Linked DNA regions of Homo sapiens: region 2 is linked to region 1. The links are contacts of gene promoters, found by promoter capture Hi-C in blood cells and fetal thymus (Javierre and others, 2016). All regions are on one chromosome and are shown on one strand. Each heading gives the region's core, a stretch centred on a gene start or on the middle of the fragment in contact. The rest is flanking DNA. Distances are from core to core; before and after follow the strand shown. Region 1 overlaps AXIN1 (axin 1). Region 2 holds the start of HAGH (hydroxyacylglutathione hydrolase).

Region 1 (6,751 bases), core at 1,538-4,037:
ATACGATTTAAGATGGACTGTCGACTGGGCGCAGTGACTCACACCTGTAATCCCAGCACTTTGGGAGGCCGAGGCGGGCGAATCACCTGAGGTCGGGAGTTCGAGACCATCCTGGCCAACGTGGTGAATCCTCATTTCTACTAAAAATACAAAAATTAGATAGGCGAGTTGGCGCATGCCTGTAATCCCAGCTCCTCGGGAGGCTGAAGCAGGAGAATCGCTTGAACCTGGGAGGCAGAGGTTGCAGTGAGCCTTGGTTGTGCCATTGCACTCCAGCCTGGGCGACAAGAGGACAAGAGTGAAACTCTGTCTCAGAAAAAAAACAAAAAAAAAACAAAAAAGGATTGTGTAGGTTAATTGGTTAATTTTTTTTTTTTTTTTGAGATGGAGTCTTGCTCTATCGCCCAGGCTGGAGTGCGGTGGCGCCATCTCGGCTCACTGCAAGCTCCGCCTCCCAGGTTCACGCCGTTCTCCTGCCCCAGCCTCCCAAGTAGCTGGGACTACAGGCGCCCGCCACCATGCCGGCCAATTTTTTGTATTTTTAGTAGAGACTGGGTTTCACCATGTTAGCCAGGATGGTCTCGATCTCCTGACCTCGTGATCGCCTGCCTCAGTCTCCCAAAGTGCGGGGATTACAGACGTGGGCCACCACGCCCGGCCTTTTTTCCCTTTTGTTCATTGTCTTTAGCCAAGTGGTATTTATTTAGCAAGCATTTTAGGACACAATATGCCGCAAAGTTATCCTGTTGAGTAAGCCTGGTATAAACTGAGAGTTTCTTTCTTTCTTTCTTTTTTTTTTTTTTGAAATGGAGTCTCGCTCTGTCACACAGGCTGGAGTGCAGTAGCACTATCTCGCTATCTCGGCTCACTGCAACTTCTGCCTCCTGGGTTTAAGTGATTCTCCTGCCTCCCGAGTAGCTGGGATTACAGGTGTGTGCTACCATGCCTGGCTAATTTTTGTATTTGTGGTAGAGACAGCGTTTCGCCACGTTGGCCAGGATGGTCTCGAGCTCCTGGACTCCAGTGATCTCAGCCTCCCAAAGTGCTGGGATTACGGGTGGGAGCCACTGCACCTGGCTGGTTATTTTTTTTGCTTGTTTTTTTGTTTGAGATGGAGTCTCGCTCTGTCGCCCAGGCTGGAGTGCAGTAGTGCAATCTCAGCTCACTGCAACCTCTGCCTCCTGGGTTCAAGTGAGTCTCCTGCCTCAGCCTCCCGAGTAGCTGGGATTACAAGTGTGAGCTACCATGCCCAGCTAATTTTCTGTATTTTTAGTAGAGATGGGGTTTTACCACGTTGGCCAGTCTGGTCTCGAACTCCTTTCCTCAAGAGATCTGCCCGCCTCAGCCTCCCAAAGTGCTGGGATTCCAGGTGTGAGCCACTGCGCCCGGCCCCGGCTGGTTATTTTTAAGATGGGACTGAAGTTGAGGGCTGGGCTGCAGGAGGAAAATGAGCTCCGTTCTGATTTCCACTGTTGGAACCCCAGTGCCTCCCTCCCAGCCACTCTTCAGTTCTTGGCTGCGAGCAGTAGCTTTGCTGTCTGTCCTTGGTTTGCTGTATTTGTAATAAGGAACCTTTGCTATGAAATTAGTGGGATACATTGGCTTCTCCTGTCTAATTTTGTGTAGCTCTGTCTACACAGTTTGGGTCCTAACTTGACTGCTCTGGGGCTGCTGGTGGCAGAGGACCCTGGGGCTTGGGAGTCGTGTCTGCGGTTGAATCCTCTCTGTGGGAGGTGGCCTGTGGTGCAGCCTTGTGGCTTGAAGATCTCTGATGTTGGAATGGTTGCTTGTCAGCACAGACAGGGCATGAAGTCCAGGCTGCGTTCCTCACATTTAGACCATTCTCTTTGTCCTGCCAGGTGTAGGTGAGGGTGCACTAGGTTGGAAGTCGTGGAAACCCACCCACCTGAGCCCAACCCTGAAGGGCACTGTTGAGGCAGAGCCTCAGGTGTGCCTTAGGGCCTGGCACCTTTGCTTTGTGCCATTCTGACTTTGCCTGCCTGGTGGGCGACTTCGTGGGCTTTGTGTTGGAGGTGGCTGCTGCAGTGACCTTGGGCTCTGGGCTCCCTTGTTTACAGATGCTTCCCGCAGCTCTGACGGATGGGCCCGCTGTTGCTCTGAGGAGGGCACGTGTGCCGCTGTGTCCCGTCTGTCTCAGCACAGTCACGGTGCGTGCGCTGGGGGCTGTGCAGCAGGGTCACTCCTGAAGGAAAGTGGGTTCTCCACCCAGACAGACGGCTGCTCCCCAGTGGGGAGCTGGGGGCAGTCCTCCAAAGGAAGGCTGCGGGTAATGCAAAGGGAAAAGGAGAGTGGGTACTGAACAGGCGGCTGGTGAGCATTGCTACCACAGCAGGGCCTGGAGCTTAGGCCTCACGTGTTAGGGGATGCATATCCTGTGGAGAGCCGGTTAGTCGTCCCGGTGTGTCCGGAATTGGTGGGTTCTTGGTCTCACTGACTTCAAGAATGAAGCCGCGGACCCTTGCCGTGAGTGTTACAGTTCCTAAAGGCGGCCTGTCCGGAGTTTGTTCCTTCTGACGTTCGGAGGTGTTCGGAGTTTCTTCCTTCTGGTGGGTTCGTGGTCTCACTGGCTTCAGGAGTGAAGCTGCAGATCTTCGCGGTGAGTGTTACAGCTCATAAAGGCAGTGTGGACCCAAAGAGTGAGCAGCAGCAAGACTTACTGGAAAGAGAGAAAGAACAAAGCTTCCACACTATGGAAGGGGACCCGAGCGAGTTACCACTGCTGGCTCCCGCAGCCAGCTTTTATTCTCTTATCTGGCCCCACCCACATCCTGCTGATTGGTAGAGTCCAGTGGTCTGTTTTGACAGGGCGCTGATTGGTGCGTTTACAATCCCTGAGCTAGACACAAAGCTTCTCCACATCCTCACCAGATTAGCTAGATACAGAGTGTCCACACAAAGGTTCTCCAAGTCCCCACCAGAGTAGCTAGATACAGAGTGTCGATTGGTGCATTCACAAACCCTGAGCTAGACACAGAGTGCTGATTGGTGTGTTTACAAACCTTGTGCTAGATACAGAGTGCCGATTGGTGTATTTACAGTCCCTGAGCTAGACATAAAGGTTCTCCACGTCCCCACCAGAATCAGGAGCCCAGCTGGCTTCACCCAGTGGATCCCGCACCGGGGTTGCAGGTGGAGCTGCCTGCCAGTCCCGTGCCGTGCGCCCGCACTCCTCAGCCCTTGGGTGGTCAATGGGACCGGGCGCTCGTCGGGGAGACTCGGTCCGCACAGGAGCCCACGGAGGGGGTGGGGGGCTTAGGCATGGCGGGCTGCAGCTCCCGAGCCCTGCCCTGCAGGAAGGCAGTTAAGACCCAGCGAGAAATTGAGCGCAGCTCCGGTGGGCCGGCACTGCCGGGGGACCCAGCACACCCTCCGCAGCCGCTGGCCCGGGTGCTAAGCCCCTCATTGCCCGCGGCCGGCAGGGCTGGCCGGCTGCTCTGAGTGCCGGGCCCACCAAGCCCACGCCCACCCGGGACTCCAGCTGGCCTGCAAGCGCATGCAGCCGCGGTTCCCGCTCGCGCCTCTCCCTCCACACCTCCCCGCAAGCTGAGGGAGCCGGCTCCGGCCTTGGCCAGCCCAGAAAGGGGCTCCCACAGTGCAGTGGTGGGCTGAAGGGCTCCTCAAGTGCCACCAAAGTGAGAGCCCAGGCAGAGGAGGCGCTGAGAGCGAGCGAGGGCTGTGAGGACTGCCAGCACGCTGTCACCTCTCACCGGGGTGGAATTTGCGTGGAGGAACGTGCCAGGAGGGCCAGCCCTCGGGTGCTGACCCCTCTGTCCTGGAGGCTACTTTGCCTGCATCTCTGCCACAGTCGCTCATCCCCTGCGGTGGGGCTGCTGCGGTCCAGCACGGCCACAGGCATCCAGTTCCCCTGTGGGACGCCTGAGTGCGGGTCCTTGTTGGTCCGTGTGTGAGCCGCGTGGTGGTTTCACATACTTGATTTGAGGAAAGTGAAGTGTTCTGCTTAGGTCTTTGTCTCAGCCTAGGAAAGAGCTCCATTCCTGGCCCTTTTCTGTGTTTGTCCCACTCACCCACTGTCATTTTGAGCTCCTGGGCCAAGGTTTCATGGGGTTCCTCCCTGGCTCCCCCGCTCTGCCTCTGTGGGAACACTTTCTGCACCCTCGGGTCTTTGTTCCCATTGTCAGTGGAACTTTGAACAGAGCTGGCTGGTTCACCTCGTCATTTCAGCGGTGTGGATCAGCAGGCAGGTTCTGCTGTTGACTGAGTGTTGGGCGGGAGGCCCAGGGCCTGCACTCCCTGGCTGGCGGGCTCAGGCTCTGCTTCCCTTCAGGGTGGCTTGGCCCACCAGGTGGCCTTCAGGGCTGGCCTTGCATGCCCCTGCCAGGTCCGCTTGGTCAAGCCCGCAGTCTCCTCGCCGCTGGCCCCTTCTGTTGACTGCCCTGACCTTCCTTGATGACTGGGGACAGGGTCTTCCTGGATATTTTCGTGTGTCTTCCCGGGCCAGTCCAGTGATGCACTTGTGGATAGGGCTGGTCAATGTGGCTGTGGCCAGAGAGTGGACAACAGACATGTCCACAGCAGGAGCAACATGGTGGCTTGTCTTGGGCTGCTGGTTCCTGGAGCTGCTCAGAGGACCGGTGGGTCCTTTCGAGGTGGGCAGCCAGCCCTTGCCGTTCAGGTTCCCGCAGGGGTGCGTGAGGAACCGTCGGACCTGCTCATTAGTTTATTGACTGTGTTTCTGGTAATGGCCTAAAAGGTTAAGAGAAGAAATGGTTAAAAAAAAAAAGAAGAAGAAGAAGAAGAAAAAGAAAGGGCCCAAAATGTGTACAGAGTTGTCTGTGGAGGAGTGGTTTTGGGTTTCCATGTCCGTTGGACCTCAGGCGGTGGTGCTGTTGAAGGTGCCCGGCTGCAGAGGGGCTGTGTTGCAAGGGTGAACTCTGCTTCCTGTGCAAAGGGTGTGGCCCAGGGTGGGGTCGCCCCCAGGCTTGTCTTGTTAAGGGGACCTCTGCTGTGGTGCAGAGGGGGCAGAGGTGCTTGTGAGCCATACTGCCCCTTGCGTGGGCTCCCCTTGCCTGGGTGTGGGGGGTTTCTAGTCTCCTTTGGGGTATTTGCTTCCCCTGTTTGAGCAGATCTGAAGAGAATTTTTTTTTTTTTTTAGACAGTCTTGCTCTGTCACACAGGTTGGAGTGCAGTGGCACCATCTCGGCTTACTGCAGCCTCCGCCTCCCAGGTTGAAGCAGTTCTCCTGCCCCAACCTCCCCAGTAGCTGGGATTATAGGCACCTGCCGCCATGCCTGGCTAATTTTTTTTTTTTTTTTTTTTTTGAGATGGAGTCTCGCTCTATCGCCAAGGCTGGAGTGCAGTGGCACAATCTTGGCTCACTGCAAGCTCCACCTCCTGGGTTCAAGCACTTCTCCTGCCTCAGCCTCCTCAGCAGCTGGGACTACAGGCGCGTGTCACCACGCCCGGCTAATTTTTTTTTTTTTTGTATTTTTAGTAGAGACGGGGTTTCACCTTGTTAGCCAGGATGGTCTCGATCTCCTGACCTTGTGATCCGCCTACCTCAGCCTCCCAAAGTGCTGGGATTACAGGTGTGAGCCACCACGCCCGGCCTTTTTTTTTTTTTTTTTTTTTTTTTGAGACCAGGCTGGCTGGTTTTGAACTCCTGACCTCAAGTGATCTGCCCGTCTCGGCCTCCCAAAGTGCAGGGGTTGCAGGTGTGAACCACCACACCCTGCCCAAAGGGAAATTTTTTTTGTTTGTGGATGTCCAAGGAAAACTTTAAAAATGATTCCTGGCCAGGCACGGTGGCTCATGCCTGTAATCCCAGACTCTGCTGGACTCTGCTGGTGCTCTGCTGGACTCTGTCCCCACAGCACCAGCTTGCATCCCACTTTTTTTTTTTTTCCCCAAGATGGAGTTTCGCTCTTGTCACCCAGGCTGGAGTGCAATGGCGCGATCTCAGCTCACTGCAACCTCTGCCTCTCAGGTTCAAGTGATTCTCTAGTCTCAGCCTCCCGAGTAGCTGGGATTACAGGTGCATGCCCCCACTCCTGGCTACTTTATGTATTTTTAGTAGAGACAAGGTTTCGCCATGTTGGCCAGGCTGGTCTCGAAATCTTGACCTTAAGTGGTCCGCCCACCTTGGCCTCCCAAAGTGCTGGAATTATAGGCGTGAGCCACTGTGCCCAGTCCATCTTGTATTTTTATGCACCTGTCAGTGGGCAAGGACTCCAAACATATTTTTTCTCTTCCTTAGCCACGTAAAGCTCCATAGTCTCAGACAGGTTTCAGCAGAGTCCACGAAAGTATCTGTAGTTGCCTGTCAGGCCAAAGGATTCTGGAACCGAGAGGCCCCTTTGCCTGGGCGGACCTCAGTCCTGAGCTGTGTGGGTGGGTTGTGAAAGGGAAGCACTTTGCAGACAGCCAGTGGCAGACGTGCCGATGAGACTGTGTGCCTGGCCCTGGTGCTGGTGCTGACCTGCAGCAGCTGTTTCTGGAGGGCTTGGGGTAAGTGTCCCTGCGGGCCCCTGTGGCCCTTCTTGGAACTGTGCCCTAGCCGTGACTGGCCGCCTGGCACCCCAGCCCATTCTCACATTTTGCGCCAGTGTCACAGATTTGAATTGACGCACACGCTCCGGTTCTGCTCATCCTTGTCAAACGCAGACGTCATTTGTAGCAGCGTACCCTGCAGTTATCGGAGGTGGGGGCCAGGCTGGGCTATGGTGGCTGTCAGGGAGAGAGGGCCGCCTGTTGGCTCTTTCTTGGGCCCCTC
Region 2 (6,751 bases), core at 1,969-4,468, 1.5 Mb before region 1:
AAAAATACAAAATTAGCCGGGTGTGGTGGCGTATGCCTGTAATCTGAGCTACTTGGGAGGCTGAGGCAGGAGAATCACTTGAACCTGGGAGGCAGAGGTTGCAGTGAGCCGAGATTGTGCCACTGCACTCCAGCCTGGGCAAAAAGAGTTAAACGCCATCTCAAAAAGAAAAAAGAAAGAAAGAAAAAAAAGAAAATTGTATGGTATGAGCAAACTCTATTTAAAAAATTACAATTATATCCACAGACTTGGAAGAACTTGCAATAAATGCTTAACTTTGGCTGTCTCTGGGTAGATGAAATTTTTGGTGTTTTGTTCTAATTGCTAATCTCTATTTTCTGACTCTTCTGTAATTACATGCATTGCCAAGCAATGAAAAAATAATACTAAAAGTAGTTAAGATAGCATGATACTTAATAAAGAAATCCAATTATGGCACTTCCTCATACTATATTATAATTTAAGCATGGGGTTGCAGCATACCTAAGTGTCTGATTCTTCTTATGTATCTACTTACAAGATGCAGCCTGCATTGTGGTCAAAACTTCACGTTCTGGTCTTGGGGGAGCTGGGTTACATCTCGGCTCTGCCACTAAGCTGAGTGACTTTAGCCAGCCTTCGCAGCCTCTAGATCTGTCTTCATCTGAGTAATGGGGATGGTAGTGATCATACTAAGCTTATGGCTTGGTTGCTGGTTACATAACACGTGGAAATACAGAATAAACTGCTTGGCATGGTGCCTAACAGTACTGTGTTCAATACATGGGGACCGTTACTACTCAATCAGATGTCCTAGGCTTTCTTCAGGGGCCAGCAGATGATGTGAACGCGAACAGGAACCCCTGCCGAAGCCCAAAGGACTCCTCCAGGCATTGACAGCTATGCTGTGCATCTTGCCTGGATGTTTTTTCAGAGGAGGGTGCAGGCAAGAGCAAAAGCAGCAGTCCCAGGCTATTCAACTTCCACAAAGCCTCCTTATCTCCGGTTGGGAAGTACAGTTGCTGATTAACTGTGTTAACACAGCACAGTGCTCAGAAGGCCAAAGGTCAAAGACTAAGGTCTGAAGCCCCACAAGGAGGAAATATCCCTCCTCGTCATTACTGGGGGGAAAAAAATTACCCTTGTAAGCCACTTAGAAGGGAGCACCTTTATTTGGAAAACAGTAATTTCAAAATCATCTCCCGAACTCAGAATCGATGGGTCTGGGTAGATACCCTAAGTAAACAGGTGAAATCTTCATTACTTGTTCACTTATTAAGTAAAATTTTAAATTAACCGATTATGTACAGGAGTGTTTTTCACATTTCCTGATAAGAATCACTTGGAATGCCCTGTAAACACAGCTTCACTGGAGATTAATCCTATCAAATTGATTCAGCAAGTCCGAGATGGGCCAGTAATTTGTGGAGATTTTTATTTTTACAAATGCTTCCTGATGATGACCAAATCTAAGAAAATTTGGTAAACAACGGAAAGTTATCTGGAACATAACTTTCAGTTTTCTCTGCAGTTTTTAAGTGCTGAACTACTGATCATCCTAGAGATAACCCACTGAAAAGTCTTCTCTAATCCAGTTTTACAAAAGGAAAGTCTTTTTAACATTTGGTTTGATAAAATGTTTTCCGAAGAAATACTTTACTTGCCTGTTTTCATTTCTGGCCCACCCGTTCTACTTCACGTTTTCTTGAAGGGTTCATCTTCTATGAGTTGAGGCATAGCAATCTAATCATTTTTAAAATAAATGGTTTCTTTTTTTTTTTTTTTTTTTGAGACGGAGTCTCGCTGTTGCCCAGGAGTACAGTGGCGCAATCTCAGCTCACTGTAAGCTCCGCCTCCCGGGTTCAATTGATTCTCCTGCCTCAGCCTCCAGAGTAGCTGGGACTACAGGCGCCCGCCACCACGCCCGGCTAATTTTTTGTATTTTTAGTAGAGACGGGGTTTCACCCTGTTAGCCAAGATGGTCTGGATCTCCTGACGTCGTGAGCCGCCCGCCTCGGCCTCCCAAAGTGCTGCGATTACAGGCGTGAGCCACCGCGTCCGGCCAATAAATGGTTTCTAATTAAAGGATTGTGACATTTAATAGCCGTTGCTTGCTCTTGTCTTGCTCCCTTCTCTCTCGAAACTTGTTAAGAAATAACTCAATATTCTGGCTTTTCCACTTTAAATGTCATACTGACCAGCCCGTGTATGCCAGCCTCGATCTCATCGTTTTCTTTAACCGGTCCAACTCCCTTTGGCGTCCCAGTCAAGATAATATCTCCTTCTTCCAAGGTTATGATCTTAGAAACATAGCTGATGATGTAGGGGATGGAAAAAATCATGGAGGATGTCTCACCCTCCTGTCTGAGTTCGCCGTTGACCTTGAGCCAGAGCTTCAGCTTGTGAGGGTCAGGGATCTTCTCCTTGGGCACGAACGCGCTGACCGGGCAGGACGCCGTGAAGCTCTTCGCCAGAGTCCAGGGCAGCCCCTTCTTCTTGCACTCGTCCTGCACGTCCCGGGCGGTCATATCCAGGCACAGGGCATAGCCGCCCACGTAGTCCATGGCCGCAGCCTCGGGGACTGCGCGGCAGCGCTTGCCCATCACCACGCCCAGCTCCAGCTCGTGGTGCAGGTTGCGAGTGTACGCGGGCATGAGGATGGGCGAGCCCTCGGGCGCGTAGGCCGTGGACGGCTTCAGGAACAGCACGGGCTCGCTCAACACCGCGCTGCGCATCTCCCTGACGTGGTCCGCGTAGTTCCTCCCCACGCAGACGATGTTCTTTCCCCACTCCCAGAAGCGGGACAATGGCCTGGATGCTGCCATGATTCCCATCAAGTGCCCCTGTAGTCACGTGGGCTGGGCCGGTCAGCTGATGCCTACGGCATCCCGGAGAGGACCAACTGCCTCGGAACGCTGTCCCCCGCAGCGACGGCCCGTTCCACCTCGCGATCTGCCGGGTACCCGGGCGGCGTGGCGCTCGGCCTCCAGGGATCCACTGTGCGGTGCCAAAAAAGAGGCGGAGGCTCGCGGCACAGCTCTCCCGGCGCAGCTCTCGGGCCGCCGCCGCCGCTCCCAGGCCCGTCTCCCGGCCCGTGGCAGTCGGGGCTCGCGGACAAAACAAGTTGAGCGCGAGCGCGTTGATTGGTTGGCGGACGGTGCGAGGTGGACGCTGATTGGCTGAGGGCAGCGCGAGGCGGGCGCTGATTGGCTGCGACGCGCCGACGCCGGTGTTTTGCAGTCCTGGGCAGCTCGGCAGTCCAGCCCGGCCCGGGTCATGGTGGTGGGCCGAGGGCTGCTCGGCCGCCGCAGCCTCGCCGCGCTGGGAGCCGCCTGCGCCCGCCGAGGCCTCGGTGGGTGCGGCGGGGCGGTGCGGGCCGGGGGACGCGGGCCTGGCGGGGCGGGCAGCGGGCGGCGCCGGGCCGTCGTTTGGCGACCGCTGACGCGGTGTCTGTTGCGCAGGTGCCTAAGGCCGCGCTGCCGGGCTCGAGCGGAGGCGGCGCAGGCGCTGAGGCTGGCGCGGAGCGGGCGCGGGGCCGCGGGTGCGGAAAGCGCTAGGTAAGCAGGGCCAGGCCTGCGTCCGCCGCGGCCTCCACGCTCGGGCTGGGCCGGCCGCGCCCCTGACGCCTCCAGGGCATCGCGTCCTGCCCGGGCCGGCGCCGAGGAGAGCCTGGGGCGCGGCTCTGAGGCGCAGCGGGCAGGGCCCCGGGACGCCTGGCCCACCCCGCACCTGCTGCCCCGCTGCAAGGACCGCGGTCTCGCGGCGCCGCCTGCGGTGGTGGAGCTGCCCGCCCGGCGCCGGAGCCCCCGTCTGGGGACCCGGCGTGTCATTCGCCCGAGGTGGTCGCGCGGCCGGGCCAGGCCAGCGCCCCGGGCGGGTGCGCAGCGCAGGGCACTGGGCGGGCGGAGGCGCAGACAGGGAGGCGTCCCTGGCGGTTTCCAGATCTCGCCGAAAGCTGTCAAGGCTCTGCAGGGGGTAGAATGTCGCCATTGCTAAGGAAAGGACATGGATTTTGAGGTCCTCAGAATTACAGTTTTAGGGACATTCATAAGGGTCCAGGCAGAGAGTTCCAGCGGGACTGTGTGCATCGGCAGGGCGTGCGTACCCCATTCTAAGGGAGGCCCCAGCCCCCGTATTTGGTGCCGCCCAGTTCAAGGGAAGCAAGATGCTGTGAAACTTCCTGATTTAAAAAAGAAGTGCAGTGACGCACGCCTGTCATCCCAGCACTTTGGGAGGCCGAGGCGGGAGGATCGCTTGAGTCCAGGAGTTCCAGACCAGCCTGGCAACATGTTGAGACCTCATCGCTACAAAAACTAAACAAAATCAGCCGGGCGTGGTGGCACACAACTGTAGTCTCAGTCACTTTGGAGGCTGAGGTGGGAGGATCGCTTGAGTCCAGGAGGTCGAGGCTGCAGTGACCCTTGATCGCACCACTGCACTGTAGCCTAGGGGACAGAGTGAGACCATATCTCAATTTTTTTTTGTTTTTGGGGCCAAACCGAACATGTTTCTGGACTTGGTCCAGGCCCCAGGCTGCAGGTCCTTGACCTGTTTGTACAAAGTATTACAGTTACAAAACAGCAAGCCGGGAACATTTGCCAGGCAGTGCTGGGCTGAGTGATATGGAAAGGGAATACGGTTTCTGCTGGTGTTGGCACCAGCTGCGTCTTTCCTCAGAAATAAAGGCACCTCCCTGGGTTGTCAGCTTCTTCAGGAGGCTGTGATGGTCTCCAGGGGAGGCTGAGCACCAGTTGTAAATGACATTTTCTTCGCCTGGGCAGTGCAGTGGCCAATCTCGGCTCACTGCAACCTCTGCCTCCCGGGCTCAAGCGAGTCTCCTGCCTCAGCCTCCTGAGTAGCTGGGACTACAGGCGCTCGCCACCACGCCCAGCTAATTTTTGTATTTTTTAGTAGAGACAGGGTTTCACCATATTGGTCAGGCTGGTCTCGAACTCCTGACCCCGCGATCCGCCCGCCTCGGCCTCCCAAAGTGCTGGGATGACAGGCGTGAGCCACCGCACGTGGGCAGTATTTTTGTTTGTAATGTTCTGCTCCTTGTTTGTAATGGAGCTCCTTTCCAGGAGGACGCCCGGCACTCGGAATCCTGTCACAACCCTTCTGCACCCCACCTGCAGCCCCCAGCACCCACACTCTGCTTGTTGTGCTCCTTGGGCTGGGGTGGTGCTGAGGCTAAGGGGAAGGGGAATAACACAGGAAGCTGCTCATATAGAAATCTTGGTATTATTGTTCCTGAGGAGAATGATCTGGAAAATGCCCAGCTGGTTGTCAGGCGGGTAATAGGATATCTTTGTGCAGTGATTGAAACTATAGTTTGGGCAGTTTCCCCGGCTGTGGAAATAAGGTCGGATTCCGCATTTCGGTGGGCCCTGGAGACGCGTGTGTCTGTCAGTTGGTGGCTGCTGCCCATTTCTGGATCCCTTTTGGGAGAAGCCCCTGCCGTGGCACCTACCCCAGGACTGCACTGTCCTCTGCCACCTTCTGTGGTTTCTTCCCCGTGTAGAGCGGAACTGAAGGTATTGTCGGGGCCCCCAGGTATTTTTAGATTTAGTAGGAGTTTCATTGCTGAAAATATTTTTGCATTGGTCGACTGGGTGGCAGACACTTTTGTCCCTTGGTCACCCACTCCTCCCAGCTCTTGGGCCTTCTGGGCCCCTGTGGCAGAGTCCTTTGGGTCAGTTGGATGGTGGTTTTGTGTCCTCCACACTTGAATCTGGGGGCAGTTGTGGCCAACTTTCCGTCTCAAAGGAACTGCTGATTTTTGTGCATATCTCAGATTCGTGCTGTTCAAGAGCAAGTATTGTTTGTTTGTTTTTTTTTTTTTTTGAGACTGTCTCACTCTGTTGCCCAGGCTGGAGTGCAGTAGGGCGATCTTGGCTCACTGAAACTTTCACCTCCCGGATTCAAGCAATTCTCCTGCCTCAGCCTGCCGTCAAGTATTGGTTCTTTCTGGCTAGAGGCTGAGAAGGGCTGTAACTGCATGGAACGCAGGCTCGCTTAGTCAGTGGTGGCAGCACAGCTTGCTGGAGGGCAGATGGCCAGGCGGGGGCACCCCTAGTCTGTGTTCCCTTCTTCACATTCTGTCCCTGAGTCCGGGGTGTGAATAATCCAGCACTGGCAGTGGTTCGCCTCACAATCACAAGCTGGCCTTCCTGTCCTTTTAGAGTTCTCAAAAAAGAAAATAGAGATCGTAAGTCTGAAACAATTGATTTCCATGAATGTGAGCATGAGTTAGTTCCTGTGTTCTCCTCAGGGATATATGAAGATATTCCTTTTTTTTTTTTTTTTTTTTTTTTTTTTTAAGGAACAGGTTATTGTCTTGTCACCCAGGCTGGAGTGCAGTGGCACAGTCATAGCTCACTGCAGCCTCAAACTCCTGGGCTCAAGTGATCCTCCTGCCTCAGCCTCCGGAGTAGCTGGGACCACAGGCATGCACCACCATGCCTGGCTAATTTTTAAATTTGCAAAGACAAGGTCTTGGCTGGTCGCGGTGGCTCACACCTGTCATCCCAGCACTTTGGGAGGCCGAGGTGGGCGGATCACAAGGTCAGGAGATCGAGACCATCCTGGCTAACACCATGAAACCCGTCTCTACTAAAAAATACAAAAAATTAGCCGGGTATGGTGGCGGGCGTCTGTAGTCCCAGCTACTCAGGAGGCTGAGACAGGAGAACGGCGTGAACCTGGGAGGCGGAGCTTGCAGTGAGCCGAGATCGCGCCACTGCACTCCAGCCTGGGCGACAGAGCGAGACTC

The links. Contacts are between HindIII fragments. The CHiCAGO score rates a contact against its expected background, and 5 or more counts as called.
Region 2: the fragment with the promoter of HAGH here is called in contact with a fragment that was not itself captured in region 1 in 3 of 17 cell types (naive CD8 T cells, M1 macrophages and erythroblasts); the score reaches 16.2 in naive CD8 T cells.

What each region holds. Positions count from the first base shown.
Region 1 is chr16:338,060-344,810 of GRCh38, reverse strand. The region is part of intron 2 of AXIN1 (axin 1); the gene reads left to right. Among named protein-coding and RNA genes, the nearest start is that of AXIN1, 11 kb to the left of the region's middle. RefSeq lists enhancers at 2,795-3,346, 4,629-5,353. The HindIII fragment of the contact is 169 bases long and covers 2,703-2,871 here.
Region 2 is chr16:1,823,292-1,830,042 of GRCh38, reverse strand. HAGH (hydroxyacylglutathione hydrolase) reads left to right here and starts at 3,218. Exons shown (of 9, transcript NM_005326.6): 1 at 3,218-3,331. The coding sequence starts at 3,256. FAHD1 (fumarylacetoacetate hydrolase domain containing 1) reads right to left here and starts at 2,837. Exons shown (of 1, transcript NM_031208.4): 1 at 1,133-2,837. The coding sequence starts at 2,804. The coding sequence ends at 2,139. RefSeq lists enhancers at 2,618-2,807, 6,072-6,141 and a silencer at 2,898-3,867. The HindIII fragment of the contact is 18,325 bases long and covers 679-6,751 here.